7 separate regions of the Homo sapiens genome follow, and all the other regions are linked to region 7. The links are contacts of gene promoters, found by promoter capture Hi-C in blood cells and fetal thymus (Javierre and others, 2016). All regions are on one chromosome and are shown on one strand. Each heading gives the region's core, a stretch centred on a gene start or on the middle of the fragment in contact. The rest is flanking DNA. Distances are from core to core; before and after follow the strand shown.

Region 1 (2,700 bases), core at 133-2,632, 290 kb after region 7:
TATAATATAACTGAATATTTTAACTTTTGGAACCTATACACTGGATAATAGGGTATTCCATACATTAAAACAACTTTTAAAAGTAGGGTGTTGTTCAGAATCACAAGTAACAAAGTTTTCCCAAGTATAAGCCAGAGAGTATCTTTACGTGTCAACATTATACCTAAAAATTAACAATTATTACAGGCAGCAGCCTACCTGGTCTTATAACAATAAGCATCTCACCATTTGTTTAAGGTAAAAAGGTAGAAAATTCTACCTTCTTTATGATCAACCAACTGGACAGAATTAATTGTTATCATATAGAGAAGAACCCATAGAGTGGATCACTCTAAAGATTTAGTACAACCAGATTATCCAAAGAAACGCATTACAAACTAGATGTACATCTTCAAAAATATTTATTTATATTTTATAACAACAAAAGAACTAAGGAATTTAGTATAAAAAAGTAAAAGTCAAATCTCCATTGATAACCTACATAAAAGGAAATATGGTCCACATTAGTGACTGGTATTTTCCAAGTTCCATAATGGCTTTACAGTAAGAAATACACTAAAACCTCGAGTTTAATTAACTTTCATAGTATTTAGAAAGTTCTAAGAAGCAAACTTAAGCTTTATTTTTCCTTTTTTAGAAGAATTAAGAAATGAAGATATATATACTAATCTTACAGAATTTCACATCTGATTAAAATATATTCTTATTTTTGATTAGCATCATTAACTCAAAATCTCCTTTGAAAGCATCCAAGTGGTTTGCCAAATTTCTAACTAAGAATACAGGATACTGCTATACTCCAGAGAATTTTCTGGTGAAGTAAACATGCAAAAGTGGTTATTTACATACCAGAACTATTTGTTAGTTGCATTAGTCTCATCATCACTACAGTTCTGACACTGTGAGAAGTCCTTGTCAGTTGACTGGAACATCTTGAAATACCTAAAAATTCAACAAGCAGGACCTCCCCAGTAGAATGAGAGTATATGGAGTCCTTGCTTTTACTTCTTCAAATTCCCAACTCATTGAGTAAAACATTAAAAATATTCTACAACAGCGAAGAAGAAAAGATAAGGGCTAGGCAAGTAAAAAACGTGTAGTAATAAAGAAAAAAATCAAATAATGTAATCAATATTCCTTTCTTTCTTTCCTACTACACATAAAAAATTAAAAACCAGAGGCAATAACAAATGTTAAGAGAAAGAAATATAAAATAAAGGAGATACAACAGGGAGGAAAACTACTGGCACAGAGGTGAAAGTAAAATCAAAACACAGATTCTGCCTCCTGCTTCACAAAGAACCTACAGAGTACAAGAGGAATCATGAAAAGAACATTTCCTAGAAAGTGACAATCTTATTAGGAAGTATCTATTAATTTATTTTATATTATTATTATTTTTTTGAGATGGAGTCTCACTCTGTCTCTCCCAGGCTGAAGTGCAGTGGCGCGATCTCGGCTCACTGCAGCCTCCACCTCCCAGATTTAAGCGATTCTCCTGTTTCAGCCTCCCGAGTAGCTGGGACTACAGGTGTGTGCCACCACACCTGGCTAATTTTGTATTTTTAGTAGAGATGAGGTTTCACCATGTTGGCCAGGCTGGTCTCGAACTGACCTCAGGTGATCCACCCACCTCGGCCTCCCAAAGTGCTAGGATTACAGGCGTGAGCCACCATGCCCAGCCCAATTTTTTTTAAAATCAGAAGTTATTCTTTCTTATGTTAACTGAATCAAAACAAAACATACATCAGAAGTAAAAAAAAAAAAAATTACCTATAAAATACAAAACGGAACTTGTAAATCAGCCCAAGGTTTCAGTGATCTGTATGGGTTTTAAAATGTAATTACTGCCAGTATAACATCCCTGAAAATAGTCACAATACATCCCAGAAGGTTTATTTCCATATATATATATTTTATGAATTAATTTCAGAATTTTCTTTTGACATATAATAAACTATCTACACTTACATTGGAAATGTGTTCTGCTCCAATGTTTTATTAAATCAACTATGGAGTTAAAACAGTTCTTTCCATCTGTGTGTGTGTGTGCGTGTGTGTGTGTGTGTGTGTGTGTGTGTCTGTGTGTATTATATACATCATACTCTTTTCCTTTTCTGGATATTTTAAAACAATAAGATAACTATTAAGCTTGTACTTCACCATACCACATTTGCCATATTACTTTCCATAATGGCTGAGTAACCTCTTATCAGAGGAATTCTCCTGCATGGAACAACCACAAACTACAAACAAAAATACAACAAATTAACTACCTGAAAGCACTGGAAAATTATTGAAACCAGGTTGATCTAGAGGGGAATCAACACAGAAAAAGAAATGACACTAAGTGAGTTAGTTACCTGTTTGTTGCAGCTTTCAGCCTGTGGGCAGGCTCCAGTCACAACATGCAGAGCAACTAAAGCTCTGATGAAAATTCCTCAGTCTCTGTCTGAAGAACCAGAGGATGAGGTGCCAGGTAACCAAACAACTAGAAAGTGAGAGAGGAATCCTGGAAAGGATAGAGTCAGAAAGGAAGAGTCCTAAATTCTGTGCATACATTCAGTTCAAGTCTACAGCTGGCTTGTGGAACCACACATGTGCAGGGAAAACTCCAAAAATACCGACTAAGGGCAAAATAAGTAAAGATTTGAAGGCATCCCACAAGAGTTTGCAGTTTGAACCTAACCATTAAATGCC
Region 2 (2,700 bases), core at 12-2,511, 270 kb after region 7:
TTTCTCACAAACTCTTTTCCAAACTGCTACACAAACTTAAAGACTTCTAAGTTCAACTGAATTGACGGGTCTATATTCTACTTAAATCTCTCTTTACCGCCATAGCCACTGCTACTTCTTCAACATTATAAGTGAAATAACAATAAGCATTTCCATGTATATTTCTTCCCCAATGATTTGTTTAAAAGTCAAACAGTATTAATATTTGTGCATCTTCATGAAGCATTCATCCTTGACAACGCTGCACATACTTACATAGCAATTTCAGTATACATAAATGTAGACACACATACCAATTATCCTGCAACTTCACCTACATTATAAAAATTTTATTTCATTTTTATTTATTTTATTTGTTTTAGAGACAGGGTCTCCCTTTGTCACCTAGGCTGGAACGCAGTGGTATGATCATAACCCACTGCAGCCTTGGCTCAAGCCATCTTCCTGATCTCTTCCCGAACTCTTTGGCTCAAGCGAGCCTCCTGACTCAGTCTCCCCAGTAACTAGAACTACAGACACATGCCACTATGCCTAGATAATTTTGTTACTTTTATTATTTTTTTTTTTTGTAGAGCCAGGGTCTCCCTATGTTGCCCAGGCTGATCTTGAACTCCTGGCTTCAAGAAATCCTCCCACCTTGGCCTCCCAAATGAGATTACAGGCTCTGGGAGCCACCACACCCAGATCATTATAAAAATTTAAAATTGTTATTTTTGTAAATGGTTTTCAAAATTTGCATTCCTATGATGACTATCAAGTTTATATACTTTTCAATTAAGTTTCATTTCCTCATACAAATATTTATTGAGAAGCTACTATGTGTCAAACTCTGTACTGGGTGTACCATGGAGATGGACTAATCTTATGCAGTCTGTCTCTCTCCTCCAGGAACTTCTAGTTAGGTACACAGGGAAAGACAAAATAAGTTCTATCAAACATTACAGTTACTATGATAGCTACATAATCTTTAGTCTTGAATGAAATGTTTTCTCTTATACATTGTCTATTTAGCTATCATATCCTACAGTTTTTTTTTTGTTTGTTTTTTTTTTGAGACGGAGTCTCTCTCTGTGGCCCAGGTTGGAGTGCAGTGATGTAATCTCGACTCACTGCAAGCTCCGTCTCCTGGGTTCATGCCATTCTCCTGCCTCAGCCTCCTGAGTAGCTGGGACCACAGGTGCCCACCACCACGCCCGGCTAATTTTTTGTATTTTTAGTAGAGCCGGGGTTTCACTGTATTAGCCAGGATGGTCTCGATCTCCTGACCTCATGATCCACCCGCCTCGGCCTCCCAAAGTGCTGGAATTACAGGTGTGAGCCACCCCGCCCAGCCCACATCCTACAGTTTTTCTAACAAATTTAATAGTAGACATTAATATTTTGACAATAGCTTGCATAAAAATTTTTCAACTCTTATTTTGAGGCTTTTGGTGGTGGTAGTGGTATTAGTAGTATGACCACTGCTTGATATTAATAGTCAAAACTGTTATTTTCGTTATGCCAAAACTTTAAAAGGTATCATTCATGCAGAGTTTTAACAAGAAGAAATTTTCTTCATTCCACATGCTGATAAAGTTAATCCTAGCTTCTTGTTTTTTGACTTTAACATATTTACTCATTTGAATATATGCATAGAGAAATCATTATATTCTATTTCAGACTCCTGACTTTCCCATATACAGAAAATAACCATTGCCAATAGGCCCCACTTTCACTTCCCACCCATTCTGTTAAATTCCTCTTGCAACCAAGGCTTTCCTTGCCCCTCACTTTAGGAATACCAGTCAGTGATTTCTGACCCAATTATCTCAAGAGATATAATGTCAATAGGGTGGAGAAGAGGAAAAAAAGTGATATACTTTTCTCACTCCCTGATCCAGGACCTGAAACAAATTTTTCCATTGTGAAAACATTTATTTATACATTATCATTATGTCTTACAATACTCTAGGCCCCATAGTTAACTACACTGGGGCTAATTGTAGAACTTGAGTCCCATCTGTAATACTGTTTTATAAGAAAATATTTTTTGAATTTCAAACAACCAAATTACAAGTGAGGTTTTAAAATACACCTGTGTCAACTGGAACCTGCATGTGTATCTGTATTTATTCTATCATGGGTAAATTTCAGAGTTAGCTTTTGTCATGAGTAGATGGCTGGTCACTAACTTCAAATACTTCAGGCTGTATAGAATCAAAATGTTATGTTACAGAGTAGAAGATTTGATTCTAAAAACAAGCAGAGTCAACAACTAAGGAACAGAATCACTGTTGCCATAAACCAGTGAGGGGTTTATCACAATACACACGCAGACACACACACACTCAATATAGTAATACTAGTTTAGTAATCTGATGCTTTTGTCATAGAGAAGAGAAAATGAACCTGCTTTTAATACAGAAAGAAAACAATTATTATGCCCCAGGAAAATAAACTTCTGATCCCAACTTTAATGCTAAAATTTTTAAGACAAATTGCTAGAATGTTAGAATATCCTTATTCCCTCAAAACTCCAGCTGGTATCAGGGGCTAGTCTCACTTTACTTACAAATTGTAAGATATGGACACATGTAAACTAAAAGGAAAAGCCCAAAATTAACATTCTACTTTCTTAAAAGACTTTTCAACCTTTATAAAGTAAAAATTACAACAAGCAAATAGGTCCTCATTTTGTTTCTCCACACTCTTCCTACATTT
Region 3 (2,700 bases), core at 90-2,589, 420 kb after region 7:
TGCTCTATTTATTTTGGTAGGAGGTGTGTGTCTCATTTTATTCTTTTTTCTCTCTGTTTCAGGGAGGTTCTACTGCTGCATCTTCAAGTTCACTGATCTTTCTTTCTGCAATATCTAATCTGCCATTAATCTCATCTAACATATTTTTCATCTCAGACATTGGAGTTTTCATCTCTAGAAGTTTGATACGGGTCTTTTTATACCTTCATTGTCTGTAATATCTTCAGTCTTTCCTCTGGTTTCTTGAATACATGGAATATAATTATAATAACTGTTTTAATGTCCTTGTCTAATAATCTTCATCATCTGTAATTTCTGAGTCAGTTTTGACAGAATGTTTTATTTTTTGTTTGTTTTGAGATGGAGTCTTGCTCTGTTGCCCAGGCTGGAGTGCATTGGCACAATCTCACTGCAACCTCTGCCTCCTGGGTTCAAGCAATTCTCCTGCCTTAGCCTCCTGAATAGCTGGGACTACAGGTGAGCACCACCACTCCCTGCTAATTTTTGTATTTTTAGTAGAGACGGGGTTTCGCCATGTTGGCCAGGCTGGTCTTGAACTCCTGACCTCAGGTCATCCACCTACCTTGGCCTCCCAAAGTGCTGGGATTACAGGTGTGAGCCACTGCACCTAGCCCAGAATGTTTTATTTTTCTTATTATGGGTTGTATTTTTCTGTTGCATGCCTGGTAATTTTTGATTGGATGCCAGCCATTGTGAATTTTACTTTGTAGATTATTTTCATATCCCTAAAACAGTTTGAACTTTCTTCTGGAGTATGATTAAGTTATTTGGACACAGTTTGAATGTTTTTGGGTCTCTCTTTTAAGCTTTGTTAGGTTATTCTAGAGCATTTAGTCGAGGGTTAATTTTTCCCGCTATTGAAGCAAGACCTTTCTTAGTACTCTAACTGGTGCCTTGTGAATTAGGATCTTTTCCACTCTTGCTGACGGGATCAGGAATCATTCACCATCCTGTGTGAGCTTTGAGTATTGTTTTCTTTAATCCTTTCTGATGGTTCTTTGCCAAGCCTTTGGTTATTTCCTCTCATGCATGTACTAATCATTATTTAGCTTAATACTTCAGGAGAATGGTCAGCAGATCTCTGGAGTTCTCTCTGTGTCACTCTGTCCTCTCTAGTATTCTACCCTGTGAACTCTAGTTGCCTTGGGCTCTCAGGACTCCCACTTATATCTCCTCACCTCACAGAGTCTTCTGGGTTCCCTCTCCCCATGCCAAAGCCTTTCTTCAGGCAGCAAGTTGGAGCAATTGTATTGCTCACCTTGTTTGCATTCCATCTCTCATGGATTACTATCCTTCACTGCCTATGTCCAATGCCTTCAGGGCCATTGTTTCATATATTTTGCCCATTTAAAAAAAGTATTTGGAAGTTTATAATTACTTTCTACTTAAATTTACTAGCTGTCACAATCATTACTGAAGAAATTCACTCTTGCAATAATATACATATGTACTTCATTTGACACAGAATTTCAACATGTAAAGCATATAAGAATTTCTTGCCACAATCATGTTTAGAATGCTTACCTATAAGGTGAATATTAAAATATTAGTAAATACAATGACTTTTTTCAGATTAGACATGATAAATAACCTGCAAGGTTACTTGACCATTGGTCACACAGAATTTCAGAGAGATCAGAACCAGTGTCAAAATAGGTATTTGTCTTTTTGGCTTTTTAAAGGTCAAGGTTGAATCAAGGGTAAACGAAAATATTGCATGAACATGAAGCTAAAATTGAATTTTATGTAACACAACAACAGCACTGGGTAAATAGAGATAGGTGGATAGACTGTCTCAGTTTCTTTTTAATAATTTTTATTTTTTTAATCGAAGCTTTACACATAATTTAAAAACTCAAAGGTAACAAAACCTAATATGAAAAAAGCCCACCATGATGAAGCAGCTGTTCTGCAGGTGTTTTGCCCTCATTCTGTGTGTCTACTTTCAATTCCAAATGGGCTTATATGACCAAAGAGATGCAGGATCTAACCAACATGTACCAACAGGAACCATGAGCATGTGTATGGAACTGGGTCCTGAGAGTGCTGGACAAGAATTAAGTTTGTGTTTATATAGGACAGCAGTACCCATTTATAGTATTGGCTTAGGGTTATGTTAACTCTTCCACACTGCGTCATAATCCGAAGAGATCTAGACCATCTAAACATCCCACATAATGTCACAATGACCTACCACATTGATGACATCATGCTAGCTGGATAAGGTGAATAATAAGCAGCTAGCATACTGTACACTGGAGGATGGGAAATAATCCTTAAGACCCAGCAAGCTGTTACCTCAGTGAAACTTTTAGGGCCCAGTAGGCTGCTTGAATGCCAAGATATCCCCTTCACAGTAAAGGACAAATTATTGCATCTCACCCACTCATTTCACCAAAATTATTCTGCCACCAGGGAAGCACACCAAGCTGTGTAGGCTTCTGTGGGAATTCAGAAGTTGGCAGTACTGTTCTGACTCGTAAACTGGGTGAGATAGAAATCTGCCAGTTTTCAGTGGGATCCATAGCATGTAAAAGTTCTCTAGCAGGTATGGTGTATTTAGCCCTGTTGCATGGACCAATTCAGGATATTCTATGGGACAAGAGTAAATGTGATAAGAAGCCATGAAAGTTGAAGGCAAGCTCCAATGGGAGAATCACAAGGTCGACTCCTGGCATT
Region 4 (2,700 bases), core at 148-2,647, 400 kb after region 7:
ATAAGCCAAAAGCCGAGTCACGCAAGAAGCTGCCTTTTCTTTTGTTCCTAAGCAGATGCTACAGATAAAAGGCCAGATATCTCCAGCTGCTGGTTGTCCACCTTATCTTATCAAGTGCCGATTTACTGAGCATGAGACAAATACATAACTGACTATTCCCCTACCTGTTCCTTGTCTCTTGCAACATGTGGATTCTGTGATGTGACTGGACCTTCCCTCTTTCCAGCCTGCTTTTCCCCTTTAGATATTGAAGCCCACAAAATCATCTTTGGAGAAAGGCACAGATCGCAGACTGTTTCTGTGGTTTCTATATTCCCTTCTTCTGGCGTGTGCCTTACATTGGCTTCTAAACTTTACAAACTTCTAAATTGACTGAGACTTGTGTCAGACATATTTTGGTTGACAAATTGGCATCCAACAGAAGGGACTCTGAGTGGAGGTGGTCCTGACTGTTGAGAAATCTGACTTTGGTGCTTGGTACCAGCCCGGGCTACTTTTATTGCTCAAACTGTTACAGGAAAGGGGTCTGGAGCCAGACCACAGAGTGAGTTCTTGGATCTCTGACAGGAAAGAATTCTGGGCCAGTCACAGAGCACAGTGAAAAAAGCAAGTTTATTAAAGACTACTCTATTACAGAGTAGGGCATCCTCAGAACTAACAACAAGAGGAGGCCAGGCACCGTAGCTCACACCTATAATCCCAGCACTTTGGAAGATGAGGTGTGACAACTGCTTGAGACCAGGTGTTCAAGACCAGCCTGGACAACATAATGAGACTCCATCTCTACTAAAAATAAAAAAAATTTGCCCTGCATGGTAGCATACCTGCAGTCCCAACTGCTAGAGAGACTAGGCAGTAGGATCTCATGAGTCTGGGATGTCAACGCTGCAGTGAGCCATTATTGTGCCACTGCACTCCTGCCTGGGTGACAGATAAGGCTTGTCTTGAAAGAAAAAAAAAAGGAAAAGAAAAAAAAAAGCAAGAGTAGGACTCTGAACACAAATAAAATGCTATATAATAAGGGAGCTGGCCAGGCATGGTGGCTCACACCTGTAATCCCAACACTTTGGGAGGCCAGGGAGGCTGGATCACTTGAGGTCAGGAGTTCAAGGCCAGCCTGGCCAACACGGTGAAACCCTGTCTCCATCAAAAATATAAAATATTAGCCAGGTGTGGTGGCGTGCACCCATAATCCCAGCTACTAAGGAGGCTGAGGCAGAAGAATCATTTGAACCTGGGAGGCAGAGGTTGCAGTGAACAGAGATCATGCCACTGCACTACAGCCTGGGTAACAAAGCGAGACTCTGTCTCAAAAAAAAAAAAAAAAAAAAAAAACAAGAAGAAGAAAGCAAGCTAAGAATAATAATGAACTTATGTGCTTTATTATAAAGGCTTGTGACCAGCTTGTGACAGGCTGATGTTATCCTCTTGTGTAACTATTGAGTTCAGCAGGAATTTAGGGATATACTATTACCTATTAGTATAAGAAACCTATTATCTATTAATATAAGAAGCCTATTCTTAGACTAAGAATACTTTTTGGTCTTGAGATATCAGGACTTCAAGACTTTCTGTTAAGTTCTGGGTCTTGTTTACTTATCATTAACTCATTCTCTCAACCATAAAGGTCCTGTGAAGGAGAGTGCCTAGCTTCCTGGGAATGGAATCCAGCAGGTTTCACTTCATTTGGCCTTATTCAAGACGGAGTCACTCTGGTTTGGACACCTCTGATATATTTTCCTCCTCCCTTTTATAAGGGGATCCTTAATTCTAAGGGGTACAGAGGGACAGAGGTCCATCTTCATAAATGTCTTCAAGGTGAACAGGAGCAATGATATTCCTCCCTAACCACTGGGATCCCTTGTATTTAGATTGGAGAGGAGTTCACTCAGCAAGTGTTGGCGTGGTGAGGACCAATCATTATTGTGACTTTCAACAAAAGGTGAAATCTGGAAAATTAGTAAGTGTTCAATTTAAAGAAGCTATTTAATAGGTTTACCTTGTTTTCTTTTCTTTTCTTTTTTTTTTTTTTTTTTTTTTTTTGACGGCATTTTGCTCTTGTTGCACAGGCTGGAGTGCAATGGCATGATCTCGGCTCACTGCAACCTCCGCCTCCCAGGTTCAAGCGAGTCTCCTGCCTCAGCCTCTTGAGTAGCTGGGATTACAGCTGTGTCCCACTATGCCCTGCTAATTTTGTATTTTTAGTAGAGATGGAGTTTCACTACGTTGGCCAGGCTGGTCTTAAAACTCCTGACCTCAGGTGATCCGCTTGCCTCGGCTTCCCAAAGTGCTGGGATTACTGGTGTGAGCCACTGTGCCTGGCTAGGTTTACCTTGTTTTCTTGCACAAAAATTACAACAGCAATACATTCCACAGCAACAAAACAGAATCTGTTCCAAGCATCTGAACAAAAAGGTTTTCCATGAACCAGACAATTGCTGGAACCACCCTGATATGGGGTCAACTGACAGTGTGTTAATGGCAGAGATATGGGTGTCTAAGTCCTTCATGGCCTGAGTAATATTATGTTAATATTATGGAATATACAAACAACATTCCATTTTGATGATAGCACAAGATCTCCCTTGAGCCGCTGTTAAAATGTCCAAAGCCATGCAGTTTCGTAAGGCTACCTGTCTAATTTGAGAAGTCTCTTCAGTTAGTAGGATAATGGCATGCTGTGTAGTATTGAAAGCTGTA
Region 5 (2,700 bases), core at 85-2,584, 310 kb after region 7:
CCCACTGGCCACATATAGGGTAGCTGGAAGATCAAAAATGATAGTAATGAATTATAATCTACTGAATAGAATATATTGATATAAATTGCTAAAATGAATGGGATATTTCATAGACTCAAAGTATCACTTCACAAAAGACTTATAAATTATAAAAAGGAAAACAGTAACTTTAGAGTGCATAAGTCAGATAGATACCATGTTAATCAAACGTCCAAAGTTAACATCACCAAGGACAAATTGAAATCATGGGCCAAATGATAGGATGAAAAAGAATATAACATCAATCCTGTGATACTCCTGTCAAAGATGCATAACTGAAATATATTCATGAGGAAAGAGAGAAACCCAAATTGGTTTCTCTCAAAGACGTGCTACAAAAAACCCAAAGACATGCTACAAAAAAACTGGTCTGTAATCCCCAAAAGTGTCAAGATCAATGCAACTCAAGGGGAAGACTAAGGAACTGTTCCAGATGGATGGAAATTAAAAATAGGTAACAACTAAATGCAACACACAATTCTGATCTGAATCTTTTTGCTCTAAAGAATTACTGAGATAATTGGTGGAATTTGAATGACATCAGAGTATTAGATGGTAGTAAAGTACCCATGTTATATTGTGGTTATCCAGGGCAATGTTCTTGTTTATAGGAAATCCATACCACAGTACTCCCGTTGCAGTGGACAATGTGGTACATAATCTGATCCTTAGCTGCCAGAAGTCCTGATAATAGACAGCCCTCAACAATCAGTCATCTTGGGGGACCGACACAGCTGAAGAATGCTGCCTCGCTCAGGGATCTGCACCCTGCCCAGGGCACTCCACATCTAATAGCTTGTTTTCACAGAAGCAGAGGCCCAACCCTTTTGCCCAACTCCAGACAACACAAAAGTGTCATCCCATCTCCAAAACTCCCTACGGTGTTAGCTGAGGCTTCCACTGAAACTATATTACACCTTTACTTCTACCTCTGCCCAAGCCTGCTTCTTTCCCTTCCCTTCCCAAGGTGAGAATTTCACCAGCACACTACTCAATCAACTACTTGCATGTTAACCTTTGTCTCAGAAACTGCTTGCCAAGGAACTCAATCTGTGAGAGGAATGATAGGGCATCATATCAGAAACTTATTATCCAATGATTTAGGAGAGGAGAAAAAAAGTTTGTTGTGCCATACTTGAAACTCTTCTGTAAATTTAAGACTGTTTCAAAATGTAAAAAGGAATAAAAAAATTCGGTGGGAAAAACACAGGAGAACAACATGAAGAAAAGCAGAAAAGAAAAAAGTATGATGGAGGTCACAGTTCAATAAAGAAATTAGACTAACCAATGGACAGTGTATTCCAGGTAATAATGGGAAGTAAAAGAAGATAGGCAAAAAGAACACATCTCTTACACGGCATTTATTTCTCAAATGTGATTGTTGCATAGCTACAAAATCAGGGTTAACAATTCACCTTTTTTCAAATTGTCATTAAGAAGTCCCTTTGAGCAGAAAAAAAAAAAATTCTAGGACGTTTTTTAAACCAGAAGATCTTTCTCATGCACATAAAATTCAGCCAGTTCACAAAATGTACCACATCTTATATTATCATTATCACATTTGCCTATTTTCTTTCACAATTCAAGCATGCCTGAAGCTACTATCTACATGTCTTCAACTCTTTCCTATCTTAAAAACAAAAATACTTTCTGTAACCTTGCTATTCAAAATATGGTCCCTGGACCTGTAGCACTGAAATCCCTGGGAATGTGTTAGAAATGCAGAATCTCAGGCCCCACTTCAAACCTAATGAAACACAATTTGCATTTCAATAAGATTCCCAGATGATGTATGCAAATTAAAATTTGGGAAGCAGGGGTCTAGTTTTCACTGTGTGATATAACATAGGGGCTTCATCCCACCTTTATAATGAAACACAGTCAAATTCAATTCAAATTGATGGCTTATTTCTAAACCATAAGAGAACTGAAGTCACAGAGCAATCAACTGGCCCTAAATCAAAAGAGGGGCAGGCACCTGCAAGGACAGACAGGATCTTAGTACTTGCTTACTTAGGATAGCTGCAACTGGACACCATAAGAGGGTACAGCTAAATAGTAGGTGAACAGGTGAAGGCAGAGTGGGAGATTTTGAGGCAGTATGAAGCTACTAGGGTATGCATAAACTGGGGGAGTCCACACCTTCTTGCAGGTTCTGTTGCTAGAAATCACACCAGATACACACAAAAAAGACAAGAAAGCCCTAAGAAAGTGCCCATTGTAGTAGAAACCTGAAGGAGGGGAATAGCAGTATTGTAGGAAGAACATGAAACTCTACCTGGATCCTTCTCCCAATCTCTACGAGTCAATCCTTAATCTGAGCGGTGAACCAATTAAACCTTTTTTTAATAAATTACCCAGTCTCAGGTTATTTCTTTATAACAGCATAAGAATGGCCTAATACATACCTGTTTTACCCATCTCTCCCCTCCCTTCTTAAATAAGGAAGGCTATATAAGTATGTGGGCCCCATTAGGATAGCGGGTAATCACTCTGTGATTTTCCCCCATGCATGCCAATAAATTTGTAGGCCATTTCTCTTATTAATCTGCCTTCTGTCAGTGAATCTTCAGAGGGCAAAGGAGTTTTCCTTTTCTCTCTACACCAGTAACATATACTTAAAGTAAATTCACATTTCTGACTTATGAGTAAAGAGATGAC
Region 6 (2,700 bases), core at 50-2,549, 370 kb after region 7:
CATCCTGATCTCTTCTCTCCCTGCAATGATCCTTTACTCCCCGTATTTTGGCCACTTTCCTCATAGTCATACCTGGCCTGGTCAGCACAAATAATTTCAACAACTTCAAATTCAATCATAGCTCTGTACTCTGACCACCACTTCCTATTCTTCTAGATGACTTATTCTTACTCCTCAAAACCTACAATTGTTTGACCCTATCAGGGCCTCTGACCTATTGACTCTTTTAACTTTTTCATCACTCATCAACCGTCGTAGGTCCTCCCCTCCCTTTGAGCCTCGTCTAAAGTCAATGGCCTTATAATCACTATCTTTGAAACACTATTAATTTGCTTGCTGTCCTCACTCTCCATCTTGCTTGTTTGGCAAAATATCAACTCTAGCTAAACCCAATTGTGGATAATTGGCTAATTTTCCACACCTGTTCCTGAGCAGAGGCCTGTGAGTAAAGAGCATCACAATCACAACCTTTTCCTTTCTTTTCTTTTCTTTTTTTTTTTTTTTTTTTTTGAGACAGGATCTTGCTCTGTTACACAGGCTAGAGTGCAATAGTGTGATCACGGCTCACTGCAACCTCTGACTCTCGAGCTCAAATGATCCTCCCACCTTAGCTTCCTGAGTAGCTAGAACTACAGACATGCTCCACTGTGCCTGGCTAATTTTTGTATTTTTTGTACAGATAGGGTTTTGCCATTTTGCCTAGGCTGGTCTTGAACTCCTGGACTCAAGTGACCTGCCCTTCTTGGCTTCCCAAAGTGCTGGGATCACAGGCATGAGCCACCGCACCTGGCCCAATCTTCTTTATTATCACAACTTTTTTTTTTTTTTTTTTTTTTTTTTTGAGATGGAGTCTCACTCTGTTGCTCAGGCTGGAGTGCAATGGTGTGATCTTGGCTCACTGCAACCCTCGCCTCCAGGATTCAAGCTATTCTCCTGCCTCAGCCTCCTGAGTAGCTGGGATTACAGGTGCATGCCACCACGCCAAGCTAATTTTTGTATTTCTACTAGAAGTGGGGTTTCACCATGTTGGCCAGGCTGGTCTTGAACTCCTGACCTCAGGTGATCCACCACCTCAGCCTCCCAAATCGCTGGGATTACAGGTGTGAGCCACTGCCTGGCCCTGGCCTTTTATCACAACTTTCTCTACCTCTCTGGGCCTTCTCAGCCTTTACAATATGTAAATGTTTTCTGTTTTTGTTTTTGTTTTCATTTTTGTTTTTGTTTTTGTTTTGAGACAGAGTTTTGCTCTTGTTGCCCGGGCTGGAGTGCAATGGTGCGATCTCGGCTCACCGCAACCTCCGCCTCCTGGGTTCAAGTGATTCTCCTGCCTCAGCCTCCCGAGTAGCTGGGATTACAGGCATGCGCCATCATGCCTGACTAATTTTGTATTTTTAGTAGAGACGGGGTTTTTCCATGTTGGTTAGGCTGGTCTCGAACTCCCGACCTCAGTTGACCCACCCACCTCAGCCTCCCAAAGTGCTGGGATTACAGGTGTGAGCTACCGTGCCCAGCCATGGTTTCTGTTCTTATCAGAGGCTTGTTCATTCAATCTTGTCTGCTTCGGAAGATCACTTCTAGAATTAACTGTCAGTCTTTGCCATCTTCCAGTTCTCTCTACTGAACACTTCCACAAGCATAAAACCATCTTCAAAACAAAAACAGATCTTCCCTTGAACACACATGCACATAAAGCTACAGCCCTATTTTTTCCACTCCAGGGAAAAACTTGAAGATATTCCCGGTTAGCATTTTTACTTCCTCTTTTCCCCTTTACTCTTTAACCCTCTCAGCTGGACTTCCACCCTAACCACTCCACAAAAACTGCTTTATCAGACGATTAATGAGGTCTATGTTTCTGTGATGGTTAATTTTATTTGTCAGCTTGACTAAGGGATGCCCAGATAGCTGATGAAACAGTATTTCTTAGAATGCCTGTAAGAAGCATTTGAATCAGCGAGCAAAGAGGGCCCACCCTCACCAATGTAGGTAGGCATTATGTAATCAGTTAAGGGTCAGAATAGAATTAAAAATGCCAGGCACAGTGGCTCATGCCTCTAATACCAGAACTTTGGGAGGCTGTGGTGGGAGGATTGCTTGAGCCTAGGAGTTAAAGACAAACCTGGGCAACATAGTGAGACCCTGTCTCTCTAAAAAAAAAAAAAAAAAAAAGAATAAAAAGGTAGAGGGGTGGGCGTGGTGGCTCACACCTGTAACTCCAACACTTTGGGAGGCCAAGACAGGTGGATCACTTGAGGCCAGGAGTTTGAGACCAGCCTGACCAACATGGTGAAATCCCATTTCTACTAAAAACACAAAAATTAGCCGGGTGTGGTGGCATGCTCCTGTAATCCCAGCTACTCGGGATGCTCAGGCATGAGAATCGCTTGAGCCTGGGAAGCGGAGGTTGCAGTGAGCCAAGATCATGCCACTGTACTCTAGCCTGGGCAACAGAGCGAGACTGTCTCAACAACAAAACAAAACAAGAACAACAAAAAAAAAGGTAGAGGAAGAGCAAATTTGTTGTCTTTTTGAGCTGCGACATGTATCTTCTCCAGTTCTTGGACATTGGCGCTCCTGCTTCTCAAGCCTTAAGGCTTATGCAGAGTATACCTCCACCTTCTGGGTTTTCCAGCTTGCTGATGGCATATTGTAGGACTTGGGCTCTGTAACCACATGAGCCAATTCCTATAATAAATCTTC
Region 7 (2,700 bases), core at 27-2,526:
AATCAGAAATAAAATCGATGCTCCGGCATGGGTTAATTGTGCAAACTTTTGAAAGTCTTTTAACCTGGTTGTGGGCCATTTTTCCTCATCTATGAAGTGGAGAGCATGCTATTTCGCATGGTTTTAGTGAAGAATAAGACACATAACCTGGTGAAAGCACCAAGGAAGATGGCTGGGTTCAAAGTACCCCATAAATATCACCTCTTCCCTTTCTTCAGGACTTCCATTCCTGTCTCAGAGGAGGGTGGATGTGGCTGGTGGTCTCCTTTTGTCTGTCTGTGGATACATAGATGGACATCACACACAGACACACATGTGCACACACTGTTCTTGAAAAGCCCACTAACACCTGCCCCCTTCCATGATTTGTCCACAGAACAGCATGTTTTTCAGCTGAGGGCTCACATGTACCAAGCCCGGGGCCTCATCGCAGCTGACAGCAATGGACTTTCAGACCCTTTTGCCAAAGTCACGTTCCTTTCTCACTGCCAGACAACAAAGGTAACCAGGGTAACCAAGACAGCCTGCTTCTTTCCTGCAGCCTGCAACTGACCCACAGAAGATCCCAGGAAAGAAACAACGGGGGCATGTTGCAAATACCTGCATCTTTGGGTGTGTAGATGTTTCAGACTGAAAAGCGAATATGTGCCCAGAAGGACTGGTGTGGGGAAGGTCTATTGTTTCAGTGTGATTCATTGTCCTAGGGCAAAGGATGCAAGTCCCTGAGGCGAAGGAAGGCTGGGAGAAAAAGAGGAATGAGGCGGAGAAGGCTAAAGTGCCAGGCACGAGGCCAAGTGCAGTGGGGAAGGAGCAAATGAGGAAACAGCACAGATCAACCTGCAGGAGGTTTATGATCCAATCATTATGAAGGGGTCTCAGTGGGGAGAAACATTTTCCAGTTTTGTGGTCAAGATGCGCTAGACTTTGCACTCACCAGCTGGGGAGCTTCGCATGCTTTTAACATCTTTATGCTTCACAGTCCCCCTCCTCTGGAAAATACTACTTCATAATGGATATTGTGAGTATTAAGGGAGATGGGTTGTCTTAATCCATTTAGCATTGCTTATAACAGAATACCTGAAACTGGGTAATTTCTAAAGAAAAGGAAATTATTTTTTACAGTTATGGAGGCTGGAGGTCCAAAGTTGAGGAGCCGTATCTGATGAGGGCCTTCTTGCTGGTGGGACCCTGCAGGTTCCGAGGCAGCACAGGGCATCACGTGGCAAGGGGGTGGAGCATGCTAATATGCTCGCTCAGGCCTCTCTTCCTCTTCTTCTGAAGCCACCAGTTCCCCTCCCATGACAGCCTATTAATCATAGATTAATCCATTTGTGAAGGCAGATCCTTTATGACCCAAACACCTCTTAAAGGTCCCGCCTCTCAATACTGTGACATTAGGGATTAAATTTCAACATGAGTTTTGGAAAAGACAAATATGCAAATCATAGTATGGGTCTGTGCCTGTTTCCTCTGTCTTTCTCCCTATCCTATACAACTAGTACTAAAATGTGAAAGGATTCCTAATCAGCAAAAATCCAGTAGGATGCTTGTCTCATTAGATTCTGTTCTTTAAACATTTATTCTGTTCTCTGATTTGTGGTTTGAAAAGAGGAAAACTCAGTAAAGAATTGCCCATCTCAGGGAGTTAAGCACCATGGGTTAGCACACACAGTGCCCTAAGGTTACTTTCTAGCTCATCTCCTCTTTGGCTGCATGTCTTTGGGCAAGTAACACAACTCACTAAACCTCAGGTTTGTCATTTTAAGATGGGACTGTCATGAAGAAGCAGATATTTAAGTTTATAAAATGATTGATAAATGATGGCCATGACATTGGCTGATGTTGAGAGGGCTAACATTGTTCTCCAGGGCAAAGCCCATGACCTCGATGATAGAGTAGACTGCATTTTGATTTATGACTCGCACACTGACAGCGTGATGTGAACCAGCCTCACATTCATTGAACCAGTGCCTGTCGGGTGCTGGCTTTTTGCCAGGCCACATGCTGGGCTCTGGAGGATGAGAGGAACCAGACTCTGCTCCAGTGTAATATACAATCCAGGCATGGATGCAGGCCTCATGACACACGAGTCACTACACTATGATAAGCCTCAGGGTGCAGGGCTGTACAGAGTCCTACAAGAGCCAGGTAGAGAAAGGGTTAGTTCTACCTGGGGGAGAAGTCAGGAGACACCTCAGAAGAAAGGTGACTTCATCCTCATTCAGTGACTGAGCATAAAAATGAGAAGACAACAGACTGCTTTCTCTTTCCTGTGTTTTGAGAGTTAGTATAGAGCATGGTGATGATGAGTATAGACTCTGGAGCTGCGCTGTCTGGGTCAAAATCCACGCTCTTCCATTTATCAGCTGTGTGACTCTAAACAAACCTCTGTTTGTGCCTCAATTTCTTTATCTGTGAAATAGGGATGATAACCTTGTACATTCCTTCCAGAGGATAAAATACCCAGGACAGTACCTTGCTTAAAACTAAGGCCTATGTGACTGCTTGTTGTTGTTGTAATTGAGGCTTCCTTCCTACAGCAAGGGAGTTCTCATAGGATGGACCCCTGGAGCCCTCCTCCACCTGCCACAACACTGTGGAGTTCCAGGGCCTTAGTGAAGTACAGGATTTGGACTAAATCCTTGGTCTGCTGTGTAATTATCCTTGTATTTTGTATCTCCATACAGCATCTTCATTTGA

The links. Contacts are between HindIII fragments. The CHiCAGO score rates a contact against its expected background, and 5 or more counts as called.
Region 1: a fragment that was not itself captured here is called in contact with the fragment with the promoter of FER1L6-AS1 in region 7 in 12 of 17 cell types (M2 macrophages, M1 macrophages, M0 macrophages and 9 more); the score reaches 9.8 in M2 macrophages.
Region 2: a fragment that was not itself captured here is called in contact with the fragment with the promoter of FER1L6-AS1 in region 7 in 3 of 17 cell types (M2 macrophages, M1 macrophages and naive CD4 T cells); the score reaches 5.4 in M2 macrophages.
Region 3: a fragment that was not itself captured here is called in contact with the fragment with the promoter of FER1L6-AS1 in region 7 in 8 of 17 cell types (M1 macrophages, naive CD4 T cells, naive B cells and 5 more); the score reaches 8.7 in M1 macrophages.
Region 4: a fragment that was not itself captured here is called in contact with the fragment with the promoter of FER1L6-AS1 in region 7 in 16 of 17 cell types (M1 macrophages, activated CD4 T cells, M2 macrophages and 13 more); the score reaches 15.8 in M1 macrophages.
Region 5: a fragment that was not itself captured here is called in contact with the fragment with the promoter of FER1L6-AS1 in region 7 in 8 of 17 cell types (M2 macrophages, M1 macrophages, neutrophils and 5 more); the score reaches 7.8 in M2 macrophages.
Region 6: a contact is called between a fragment that was not itself captured here and the fragment with the promoter of FER1L6-AS1 in region 7, in 15 of 17 cell types (M2 macrophages, endothelial precursors, total CD4 T cells and 12 more). The highest score is 16.9, in M2 macrophages.

The regions. Positions count from the first base shown.
Region 1 is chr8:124,331,418-124,334,117 of GRCh38, forward strand. All of the region lies in intron 1 of TMEM65 (transmembrane protein 65), which reads right to left. Among named protein-coding and RNA genes, the nearest start is that of TMEM65, 40 kb to the right of the region's middle. The HindIII fragment of the contact is 1,534 bases long and covers 616-2,149 here.
Region 2 is chr8:124,314,288-124,316,987 of GRCh38, forward strand. The region is part of intron 6 of TMEM65 (transmembrane protein 65); the gene reads right to left. Among named protein-coding and RNA genes, the nearest start is that of TMEM65, 57 kb to the right of the region's middle. The HindIII fragment of the contact is 4,894 bases long and covers 1-2,700 here.
Region 3 is chr8:124,462,450-124,465,149 of GRCh38, forward strand. RNF139-DT (RNF139 divergent transcript) reads right to left here. Exons shown (of 2, transcript NR_108047.1): 2 at 44-2,700. Among named protein-coding and RNA genes, the nearest start is that of RNF139-DT, 11 kb to the right of the region's middle. The HindIII fragment of the contact is 1,028 bases long and covers 826-1,853 here.
Region 4 is chr8:124,440,725-124,443,424 of GRCh38, forward strand. No RefSeq gene overlaps it. Among named protein-coding and RNA genes, the nearest start is that of TYW2, 8.7 kb to the right of the region's middle. RefSeq lists an enhancer at 1-105. The HindIII fragment of the contact is 6,278 bases long and covers 1-2,700 here.
Region 5 is chr8:124,353,755-124,356,454 of GRCh38, forward strand. All of the region lies in intron 1 of TMEM65 (transmembrane protein 65), which reads right to left. Among named protein-coding and RNA genes, the nearest start is that of TMEM65, 18 kb to the right of the region's middle. The HindIII fragment of the contact is 8,020 bases long and covers 1-2,700 here.
Region 6 is chr8:124,404,974-124,407,673 of GRCh38, forward strand. No RefSeq gene overlaps it. Among named protein-coding and RNA genes, the nearest start is that of TMEM65, 34 kb to the left of the region's middle. RefSeq lists a silencer at 1,462-1,662. The HindIII fragment of the contact is 5,784 bases long and covers 1-2,700 here.
Region 7 is chr8:124,039,506-124,042,205 of GRCh38, forward strand. It overlaps FER1L6-AS1 (FER1L6 antisense RNA 1), which reads right to left and starts at 1,277. Exons shown (of 6, transcript NR_040044.1): 1 at 1,121-1,277. It overlaps FER1L6 (fer-1 like family member 6), which reads left to right. Exons shown (of 41, transcript NM_001039112.2): 20 at 377-501. The HindIII fragment of the contact is 11,424 bases long and covers 1-2,700 here.